2 separate regions of the Homo sapiens genome follow, and region 1 is linked to region 2. Evidence: promoter capture Hi-C in 16 types of primary human blood cells and fetal thymus (Javierre and others, 2016). All regions are on one chromosome and are shown on one strand. The core of a region is centred on a gene start or on the middle of the fragment in contact, and the rest is flanking DNA. Distances in the headings are between cores, read along the strand shown.

Region 1 (5,439 bases), core at 1,537-4,036, 530 kb before region 2:
CAAAAAAAAGTGGGCTATGTGTGATTTTCCCCTTTGCCATTTTTGTAATCTTACAATTAATTTATAATGACACAATTAACAGATAGACGTACTTTCTGGGCCCTCATGGTACCATAATAATTAATTTTAAAAGACCCAGCACTGGCGACACCATCATGCATTCATAAAAACCCAAGAAGAAGAGAAAACCCTCAAAGCCTCCAGAGTGATGGAGCTGATCTCATATTAAGGACTAAGACCGAGAACGCAACTCTGGAAGCAAGAATGGAGCAGTGCCTACAAACTTCTTGGGAAATTTACTTCCCATGTGGAATGGGGAGCACTAGATCAAGGGCAAGGACAGAATAAGGACATTGCAGACCTGCAGGGTCATGGAGAACCAGCTTCTTGGGCCCTTTCTCAGAGCTGTGAGAGGAAGATGTGTTCCACCCAAAGGAGAGACAGATCTAGAATGGAGATGCTGTGGGATCCCAGACACAGGATGTAGGAAAGGGTCCCCAGGATGGATCTGAAGCACCACGGAAATGTCTAGATCACTGTTCTGAAGCAGATCCAAAGAGCAGCCGTTACTCCGAGGAGTGTTGCCAGTGAAACACAAAACCATCCCCCTAACCTGAGGGTGTGATCACATTGAGACATGGGTTATAGACAGAGCTAAGAATTTAAGGATGAATTAGTGACAGCTATGGAGAAAACTAAAGAAGTGGAAGTAGATCGTTTATATCTAGGGAAAGCAAAAATGCTATAGAAACAAGGCAATTAAAGTCTACACCACACGAGTCAACTATGAAGACTTTTTACTCCATTACATTAGTGTGGACACTGCATGAAGTCTCGGTAACTCTACCAGTTGATGGGCCAGGGAGAATGGGTAGAGGAGCACCTCTATGAAGCAAATATTCATTGATCATAGCAGATAGGCGATAGATAATGTTTACAGAAAAAAACTGGTAGCAACAGAAACATATTACTTAGAAATATAGACATAGGGCCGGGCTCTGTGGCTCATGCCTGTAATCCCAGCACTTTTGGAGGCTGAGGCGGGCAGATCACGAGGTCGGGAGATCGAGACCATCCTGGCCAACATGGTGAAACCCCCTCTCTACTAAAAATACAAAAATTAGCTGGGTGTGGTGGCAGGCACCTGTAATCCCAGCTACTTGGGAGGCTGAGGCAGGAGAATCACTTGAACCTGGGAGACAGAGGTTGCTGTGAGCCGAGATCGTGCCACTGTACTCCAGCCTGGAGACAGAGCAAGACTCCATCTGAAAGAAAAGAAAAGAAAAGCAAAGAAAAGAAAGAAAGAAAGAAAGAGAATGATAAACAGCTAGAAGAGATAAAAAGTGGTGCTTTCTGGAGAGCAGAAATCATTGGGGATGACGGGGGCCGGGGTCTGCAGTTTTCCTGCGGAGGCTTAGAGCGCTGTTTGTTCAATCCTTTTTCTATTTTCTCTCTGTTGTTCAGGATAACTCATTTCTACTGGTCGATTTTCCAGCTCGCAGAAGCTTCCCTCCATCTTTTCCATTCTTCTATTGAGCCCAGGTATTTAGTATTTTTTTAAAAAATTGGTTATTGTGTGTTCTCAGTTCTAAAATTTCCACTTGGTTCTTTGTTATATTTTCTATTTCCTTACTGAAACTTTTCTTTTCTTCGCTAAAACTTTCTATATTTTGACTCATTTTCAGCACATGAAAGTATTTTTACAATGACCATTCTAAAATAACTATGAAATCATTCCGACATCTGTGTTATCTTGATGTTGGCATCTGTTGCTTGTCTTTTCCCATTAACTTAAGCTGCTACTGGTTCTTGGTAGGAGTGATTTTTGATGGACTCCTTGCCATGTTGGGCAGCATGCTAGGAGACTCGAGATCTTACCCAAATCTCCAGGTGTTAGCAGACGTCCTTTCATACCACACTGGGGGTGGGGGTTCAGCAACAGCGCCTCGTTATTGCCAGGTTGGGTGGAGCCCCAGTTCCCCACTTGGCCTCCACTTATACCCTGGGGTGGGAGGCACATCGCATTACTGCTGGGTGGGGGTGAGGACTCAGTGTCCCAACGAGTCTCTGAGCACCCTGGTTTGGAGGTGCAATGATATCTCATTAGGGCTCCTCACCAGCCTCCACTGGGCACCATGTGGGTGGGAGGCTCCTTACATCAGGTGAGAGTGGAAGTCTAGGCTCCTGCCCAGCCTTCTCCAACACCACCCCAGTCGGGGTTTGGGTGCCTTGCTACAGCTAGGTGGAGGTGGAAGTTCAGGTTCCTCACTTGCTCTTCACTGGCATGGATGAGGGTGGGCTGAGGTTTTTCCATGTCGTTTGTCCGGCATGGGGTGGTTGTCCAAAAGTTTTGTGTCTTGCTAGGCTGCCCTATTTCTTGCCCTTCAGGTAGAGAAGACAGGCTCTTCCTGATATTTCCCTTTTGTCTGTGCTTGTTGGCATTTCCAGGTTGTCAGCTTCTCCAGCACCCAGTCCACAATAAAGAAGGCAAAAGAAAACCCCAGGAACTCACTGTCCTGTCATTTCTCCTATCCCGAGGGCCCTGCTGGTCTGCCTTCTTCTCTCCACTGTTCAGAGGCTTAGGTTTGTTTTATACATACTTGCAGGGGTTTTAGCTGTACTTAGCAAGAAGAGGAGGAAAAATGTATCCACTCTCTTTCTGGAAGTGAAGATCTGAACACTTCTTTTCTCTTCTCTTACTTTGCCTCAAACAGTAACCATGCTTCCTCCGTGGCTTCAGCTTCTGAAGAGCCCCTGTGTGCTTCTCTGTCTTCTCCTGGGTCACCCCAGATGTGGGTGCCAGGAGTTACACTTCTTCATTTTCTCATTATGCCTAGAGCTGCTAGAGGCTTCCTTCTTCTCTGTCTTGACTCAGTTTCTGCCATTTGGCCCCTAGCCTTTCCATCACCTGTGGAACTGACTCTTGCTCTCTGTTTTTCAGATTGGAGTGGTTCCCATTTTCCTGCATGGAACCTGATTTACACAAAAGGTCTGAGCATTCTTATTTTAATTTGATAGCTATTGACAAGTTACCTGCCAAGCTGCCCGTACCTATTTAGTTAGAACAATAGGAGTATCTGTTTACCCACAGCCTTGAAGGGTTTGTCTTGCCAATCTGATAGGTGAATTTAATAGTCATTTTCATTTGTTTAATTAAAGGTCAAATTCTCATCTTTGTTGTGTTTATTGGTTATTTGCATTTCACTTCTGTAAACAATCCATTCATATCCTTTATCCATTTTTCTGTCAAATTATCTGTATTTTTCTTGTTGCTTTACAGCATATTAAATTAATCCTTTGTAATGTATGAGCCGGAAAGCTCTTCCTTGTCTTCGTTTATGCCATCCTTTGTTATGCCGAAGTTATAAGTTTTGATGTTTTTAATTATAAAAAGCACATACACTTTGGGAGGCCAAAGTGGGCAAATCACCTGAGGTCAGGAGATCGAGACCAGCCTGGCCAACATGGGGAAACCCCGTCTCTACTAAAAATACAAAAATTAGCCGGGCATGGTGGTGCACACCTGTAATCCCAGCTACTCGGGAGGCTGAGACAGGAGAATCGCTTGAACCTAGGAGGCAGAGGTTGCAGTGAGCCAAGATCATGCCACTGCACTCTAGCCTGCGTGACAGAGTGAGACTCCGTCTTAAAAAAAAAAAAAAAAAAAAAAGGTACATAACCCCCCACCATCGAATTAGCAAAAAGAAAATGCATTGGCTCATGTAATGGAACAACTCAGAGGTAAGGTTCCAGGTACAGGTGGATCTAGGGGCTCAAAGAAAGCCACCAAGACAGTTTCAGTCCTGCTCTTCTTTATGATAGCATCATTCCAGGGCTCAATAGGATAGCAACACGGCTCCCAGTAGCTCTGTTTACACATCAATATAAGTAACAGAATCTTGTCTAAAAGTAGCTTACTTATGAAGTTTCTTTTTTCTTTTTACACAAGGAGCCTGAAAGTATAGTTAGCTCTGAGAGTGATTCAGTAACTCCAAATGTAAGCACTCTGAGTATATATGTACTTTTTCTTTCTTATGAAAAAATGGCTGCCCTAGCTCTAAGCTTGTGGCATTCACCCAACAGCATCCAATACAGGTAGAAAGGGAAGCCTCTTGTCAAGAACATCTCTTTTACCAGATGGGGCAAATCCCCCCCAGAACCCTCCACCTCCCCACCCCACACCCCACACCCCACCAGATGCTCTCTCAGATTCCACTGGCTGGACTGGGTCATGTGACTCTGCCCTCTCTGCAAAGGAGGATGGGAAAGCAAGGAACGGGCACTCTCAGCCTGTGGACTGGGGAACTAAGGGGTGGGGAGCTGTTGGGTGGACATCTAACACCGCCTGTCCCAGGGAGCATCTCTCCTGGTCACTCCTGCTCTAGAACCAAGGCTCATTCTGCTTGGATTAACTCATGTCACGTGCTCATCCTGAACCACTTCCTGGTCACGGGGATTTACCAGCTGATTGGCCAGACCTGGTCACATGCTCCACCCTTAGATCCAAACATGGAGCTCCTCCTGAACCCAGTGATGGGCAATGGGAGAGTGACTGCTTAGTTACTAGGGTCTGGTTACCGCAAGATGGGAAAATGGATGCCAGAAACTCAAATTAGGAAATTTACACCAAAGAAGCCATGTTCACATGGAATAATCATTATTGCTGATCATGTCAATTTCTGGGAGTTAATTTCTGGCCAATGCTAGACAAACCTTAGCTTTCATCATTCTCTCATCCCTCCCAAAAAGGGACTTGTAAATGAACTATTTTCCTTCTTCTCTGGACTGCCCATGCCTCCCCACCCCCTAGCCATGCCAGTCATCACCCATTTGGAAACGATCTTTATTTTAGTGGAACCCAGATATCCCTGGCCTGACCAGTGTCTTACTGGCCAAGTTGAGTGCCCAGTAAACAGCACAGTTGCTTAAACGTTCTTGCTTCCCACCTCTAGAGGTGTGGACGCCATTGTGAAGGTTAATGATGATTCCTCTACTTCTGTTCAGATTTCCATTTCTGCCATCCTAAATGGAAGCCATCCAATCTCGCTTTATGCTCCCCACATACCCATTATCGGCTTATGAAGAATCAGAGCTGCACAAAGGCTCAAAATTGCTACGTTCTAGAATAGGCTCAGCTCTGAAGCAATTTGAATGTTCACAGGTTTAAAATGACTTGGCAGTCTGTCTATAACATGTCCTGTGGCCTGAAAGGGAATGAAAAACTCATCAGCCTGAATTTGTTAGTGATTAATTGATCTGCTGATGGAGCTCAGTTAATCTTTGCAGCCAAACAGAGACCGGCTCAGCCTTGAGCAATCAAACCAGCTGTGAAGAATCCTGCCTAGTCCACAGGCCTGTTCCATCTTAGGGTCCTAGGGAGAAATTATAATGGGGAAAAGGAAAGGGGTTTTAACCATAAATGCAGGGAATGTGCAGACA
Region 2 (5,457 bases), core at 1-2,500:
CTCCGGCCTCTTCTGTGGCGCGAGGGACAGCGGAAACCACGGTAGACAGCACCCCCTTGAGTCCAATTCCTCCCCTTTCGGAGGAAGCCGGTTTCTCCTTTCTATGCTACTCCCGGGCCATTTCTGGACAACAGCTGCTATTTTCACTTGAGCCGAAGTTAATTTCTCGGGGAGTTCTCGGGCGCGCACAGGCAGCTCGGTTTGCCCTGCGATTGAGCTGCGGGTCGCGGCCGGCGCCGGCCTCTCCAATGGCAAATGTGTGTGGCTGGAGGCGAGCGCGAGGCTTTCGGCAAAGGCAGTCGAGTGTTTGCAGACCGGGGCGAGTCCTGTGAAAGCAGATAAAAGAAAACATTTATTAACGTGTCATTACGAGGGGAGCGCCCGGCCGGGGCTGTCGCACTCCCCGCGGAACATTTGGCTCCCTCCAGCTCCGAGAGAGGAGAAGAAGAAAGCGGAAAAGAGGCAGATTCACGTCGTTTCCAGCCAAGTGGACCTGATCGATGGCCCTCCTGAATTTATCACGATATTTGATTTATTAGCGATGCCCCCTGGTTTGTGTGTTACGCACACACACGTGCACACAAGGCTCTGGCTCGCTTCCCTCCCTCGTTTCCAGCTCCTGGGCGAATCCCACATCTGTTTCAACTCTCCGCCGAGGGCGAGCAGGAGCGAGAGTGTGTCGAGTGAGTGTGCGTCTGTGTGTCCCGGCGAGGGTGCGCGCTCGGCGCCGGGAGCGCGGCCAGCCGAGTCCGGAGGCATCGGGAGGTCGAGAGCCGCCGGGACCCCAGCTCTGCGTTCACTGCCCCGTCCGGAGCTGGACTTCGGGGCCGGGGCCGGGGCCGTGCGCCGGGGACAGGCAGGGCCGGGTCGCGGGCCGCGCGTCCCCCAGGCCGGAGGTAAAAGCGCTAGCGCGCGGAGGGCTCGAGGAGGGCACCGCGGCTGGGCCCCCCGCGCCCCGGGCCCCAGCCGTCCGCGGCTCCCGGCCCGACGCTCCCCGCCCCGGAGCGCGCCCGCCTCCCCTGCGTGGAGGCCGGCGGGCAGGCGAGCGGGGGGCGGTAGCGCCGTGCCAAGGGGCTGGCTGGGGCAGCGTGGCCGGCCGGGCTGGGGCGATTTAAGAGCGGTCCGGGCGGGGTGCGGAGCCGGACTTTGGCTGGGGCGGCGCGCGGGGAGGGGGCCGGGGGCGGTGGCGGCGGCGTTGGGGGGCGGGGAGGAGGCAGGAGGAGGAGCAGCAGCGCTCGCCGGGGGATGCAGCAGCGGCAGCGGCGGCGGCGGCGGCGGCAGCGGCAGCGGCGGCGCGGAGTCCCCTGCGCCCAGCGGCCCGGCCGGGCTGCGGCAGAGGCGGCGGCGGCGCCCCGCTCCGGGTGAGGTTGCCGGGGCCGTGCGCGCTGGTGAGTGGGGCGTGGGGGGCAGGTGGGTGGCTGGGGGACGCGGGGCTCGGGCGGGGGCTCGCGGCGGCCGGAGCCTTCCCCGGCGTGAGCCCGGCCGCGAGCGCCGCCCAGGTGAGCCGGGGCTGGTCCGGACCGCCCGGCTCCAGCCCCAGCGCTGCTTGCGGAGGTGGGTCCGGGCGGGCGGGAGGGAGGCTCCGGCGCCGGCCGTCCGCAGAGGGATGACCTGTTTGACCCCGCTGGCTGGCGGGCGGGCGAGGACTTCCCGCCGCGCCCCTGACCCGCGGACACGGCACACCGAGCACAGGCGGCCCCGGGTAGGGGAGCGCGCCTGGGCCGGCCATCCGCAGGGGCATGGCCTTGTTGACCCTTAGGGTTTAGACCCAAGGGACCGGTAGATGCCAGCCCACGTGGGGCTTGTCCGGGCAGGACTCGGGGAAGCAGTGGGCCGGATCTTCAGAGTGGTTGGAAACTCGCAGACACCGAAAGGACAAACAGGATCGAAAAGGCAGACTTCCTCCCAGGCCAGGGCAGAACGAGTTTCCATCGCCTGGCGGAGGGATGCTCCCCTCCCCGGCTCCTCGGGGTTTCAGAAGTCTAGCGGTGAATTCTAGGAGTGCACTTTTCCAAACATTCCTTATAGTAGTTCGTTCATTCGTTCTACAAGCATTTCTGGAGCACCCCCTCGTGCCGGGCACCGCGTTCTGTTCCAGGGAAACGCGGCTGAACAGGATCTGGCTCCTGCGCGCCAGAAGCTGCCGGTTCACTGGGAGGGCAGCAGGGTAGAGAGATGCCGTCTCGGGGTGGAAGATGGAAAGGGAAGCCTGCAATCCTAGTTTGCACACTGGCCTCGGTCCGCAACTCCCCCACCTGCACGCAGTAGGCCCAGCACACAGTAGGAAGAGCAAGCCAGACCTGCCTGTGACGACCCTCTCCTCCTCCTCCTCCCCCTTGAAAGCTTTGATTCATTCCCTGCCCCCCTTTCTGGAAAGTCTTCCTGCAGCTTGTTTTAATCACTTTTTGAGTTAAAAGTCAATATTTAATTAACCAAGTAATTACATTCAGCTTACGTTTCAATCTGGGTATTTGCTCATCTGTGCGTGTTGGGACACCCGCCCTCTCGCCCCTCCATCTGTCCCCTGCCTGTTTCCCACCGGGTCCACCCCCACTTTTGGGGCAGAGAAGGGGAGGCTGCGCTGGAGCAGGTTCTCAGGGGGAGACAGGGAGCAGGAGAGACGGGCTTTCTCTGGAGGACACCCCCGGATCTGCGCGCTCTCCAAATTTCAGCTTGTAGTGAATAGTGAAGGTGATTTCTTGACAGCCTCTGCCTCCCATTACAGAACCACCAGAGGGTTCTAATTAAATTAGAGCCAATCGTTAAGTATAGGAACGGGGTAGGGAGGACAGAACGAAGGGGGCCCCTTCCCTGTAAGAGATGTTCTCCCCAGCTTCGTCTCTCCCACATCATAGAGAAGAGAAAACTCATCCAGACAGCCTGTCGGATGTGTAATTTAGCGTTCTAATAAGCAGCTTGAAAGGCGAAGGTGGTGGGCTTGGCAGATGGCATGTTGGACCTTTGTACATGAAGGCCTCTTCCTTCCCCAGCTAAATTTATATACATAAAGGCCGTGATGTTGGCATCACTGCTGCAGCTGAGGGTCAATGTGGGTTTGGGGTTTGGGCTTTGTGTGTACTTCTTGGGTTTTTTATTTGAATTTATGGCTTTTTCTGAAACCCTAATAACATGTTAAATTTTCAAACTTGAGAGTAGAGTGATGAGTTGACTGTAAAAGTCTGGTCTTGGAGGAGGACAGCATAGCAGTGTGTGTGCATGCACGTGCATGTCCCCCAGTTCAGCTGCTGTCCAAAGAACCCAGTTGATATGCAGTTTCACACCTGATTTGGACCTGATTTGGGAGATAACATTTCCTTCTCACTTTTTCTGGCACTGGTTAGTTTATCTGCTTGGACCTGCCTCAAGAGGGCAGCTGGGTTAACCAGGCAGAATATCACCCAACTCTGTCAAGCTTTGGCCATTATCTGACCTTAGACTTTAGTCCTGCAGAAGGAGTCCAGAAGCCCTGTCCTACAGAAAAATATCAGCATTTCTGACCAGCTTGTAGTTAAAAGAAAAGGTTTAGTCCAGACTTAAGATAATTGGTAACACTTAAGTAGTTTTGTATGGGCCTGATCTGAGGCATTGATCTAAGCCCTTATACCTTACTCATTAAATCCACACAAATACCCTGTTAAGTAAGTACTGCCATTGTTGCCATATTAAAGATGAGGAAACAGGCACAGAGAGGATTGTGACTTGCCTACAGCTGGTCACAGGTAGAGCTGGGATTCAAGAGGCCCTCAAGCTCCGGGGTCCACTTGGAACCACTGGACTCTCCTCCATGACCTTGGCCTTTGTCCCAGATGTAGAAGAAACACATATGCAGGGGAAGAAAACACCTTCAGACAGTCAAACTTTGCAAAGTAAAAGGCCCTTAACTTTCCATAAACCCCCACTGTTCCGACAGAGAGTCCGGGTTTGTATTTGAGGTTTTTTGCCCCAAGGAAAACATGTGTCTGCCTGGTGCTTTTTCTTCTGCTTATGAGCAGACACACTGTCCCCTCCCCCAGTCAAAATGCAAAGGGAAACATCAAATGCAGCTGATGGAAAAGCCAGGTGAACCATGGTGAAGATTTCAGCCCACTCAGAGCACAGTGGCCAGAGAGCAAAAGCTCTCCTAGAGGTGAGACCTTCCTGTGGTTGGTGATGGAGTCTCGATGGCCTGGCCCTGGGGGTGGTGCCAGGGTGCTCTGTGTCAGGCCTGGGCGGATGTGGAAGATGGGGGCCTCTCTCAATGCTGATCTGCAGGTGAGGGGGCCCTCCCTGAAACCTGCTTTCTCTGGGCCTCCTTGGAATGGGCCTTGGTGGAGATCTACAGACAGCCCTGGCCCAGCCGGATTGAAGGCACTGTCTAATTGGGAGGGCATTAAGATCGTTATAATTAATTGGCATCCCGATAAATGGCATGGTTGCCTAATTGGGGTGGTTGCTAGGGAACGAGGCCTCACTTGGAGCCTAAAGGGGAAGAAGCGCTGGGCTGGCCACAGTTGGGTGTCAGGGTACAGATCCAGCAGTGAATGGACCGGAAGGGAGAGCAGTCCATCCGTATCTGCTGGTGTTTACTGAGCAGCTGCTGTGTGCAAGTTGCAAATGGAGTATCAGTTAGGGGTACTTGCCTAGAAGAACTGTAAAGTAATCAGGTTCCTTTCTCTTGCAAGCAACGGAAAAAGAGAAGAAAAAAACTCAAGCCAGCTTAAGGAGAAAAGAAGTGGACTTACTGGTTTTCATAACCAAAAGTCTTAAGGTGACTAACTCTAGCTTCAGACACAGCTGGACCCACAGCTCAGATTTTGTAATGAGAATCCATTCCTATCCACCGCTCCTCTGCCTTCCATGAGGCTGATGTCTCTCCAGCTCTGGGGCGGGCAGTCCCTGGCAGCTGTGGGCACCGTGGCTAGGAGAGCCAGACTGCCTGGCTCCCTGCCCAGCAGTGGGATCTGGGGCATGCTACTTAACCTTTCTGTGCCTTGATGTTCACATCCAACAAATGATGATGATCATAGCACCTGTCTCCTGCTTGTGGTAAGCATGAAATGAGATGATCAATGTCAAGTGCTTAGCAGGGCGTCTGACCCAGGTGAGCCTTCAGTAGGCATTGACTGTTACCATAACTTAGGTGTCAGGACAGATGTCATGGAGCAGAGGGGTCTCATCCCCTCTGGTTTAAGCCCAAAAGGAAAGAACAAGCCTCTGATCTGGCAATGCACACCTGAGCCCCATGGTTCCCTCTGATTGGACTGTTTTTTGTCCAAACCAGTCACTGGCTAAGGAAATGAGTTGCCAACAATTGGCTTAAGCCAGGCTCACAGGCCTCTCCCTGGAGCTGGATGGAGGCTGACTGCTGAGACCCCAAAGCCTGGAATAAAACAGCACGGGGAGTCCCCAGTGAAAGGGAAGCCCGGTTGCTGGAGAGGCAGATGGCCAGTGCCTGCGATGATGGGCCACTAATGTGAG

Evidence for each region. The method cuts DNA at HindIII sites, captures the fragments that hold promoters and counts their contacts. A CHiCAGO score of 5 or more calls a contact.
Region 1: a fragment that was not itself captured here is called in contact with the fragment with the promoter of SULF2 in region 2 in 1 of 17 cell types (endothelial precursors); the score reaches 6.8 in endothelial precursors.

Annotation. Positions count from the first base shown.
Region 1 is chr20:48,314,354-48,319,792 of GRCh38, reverse strand. No RefSeq gene overlaps it. Among named protein-coding and RNA genes, the nearest start is that of LINC00494, 43 kb to the left of the region's middle. The HindIII fragment of the contact is 2,557 bases long and covers 1,508-4,064 here.
Region 2 is chr20:47,781,274-47,786,730 of GRCh38, reverse strand. It overlaps SULF2 (sulfatase 2), which reads left to right and starts at 1,250. Exons shown (of 21, transcript NM_001387048.1): 1 at 1,250-1,388. It overlaps LOC124904920 (a long non-coding RNA gene), which reads right to left and starts at 977. Exons shown (of 2, transcript XR_007067618.1): 1 at 569-977; 2 at 1-326. RefSeq lists enhancers at 1-132, 4,232-4,291. The HindIII fragment of the contact is 4,753 bases long and covers 1-2,345 here.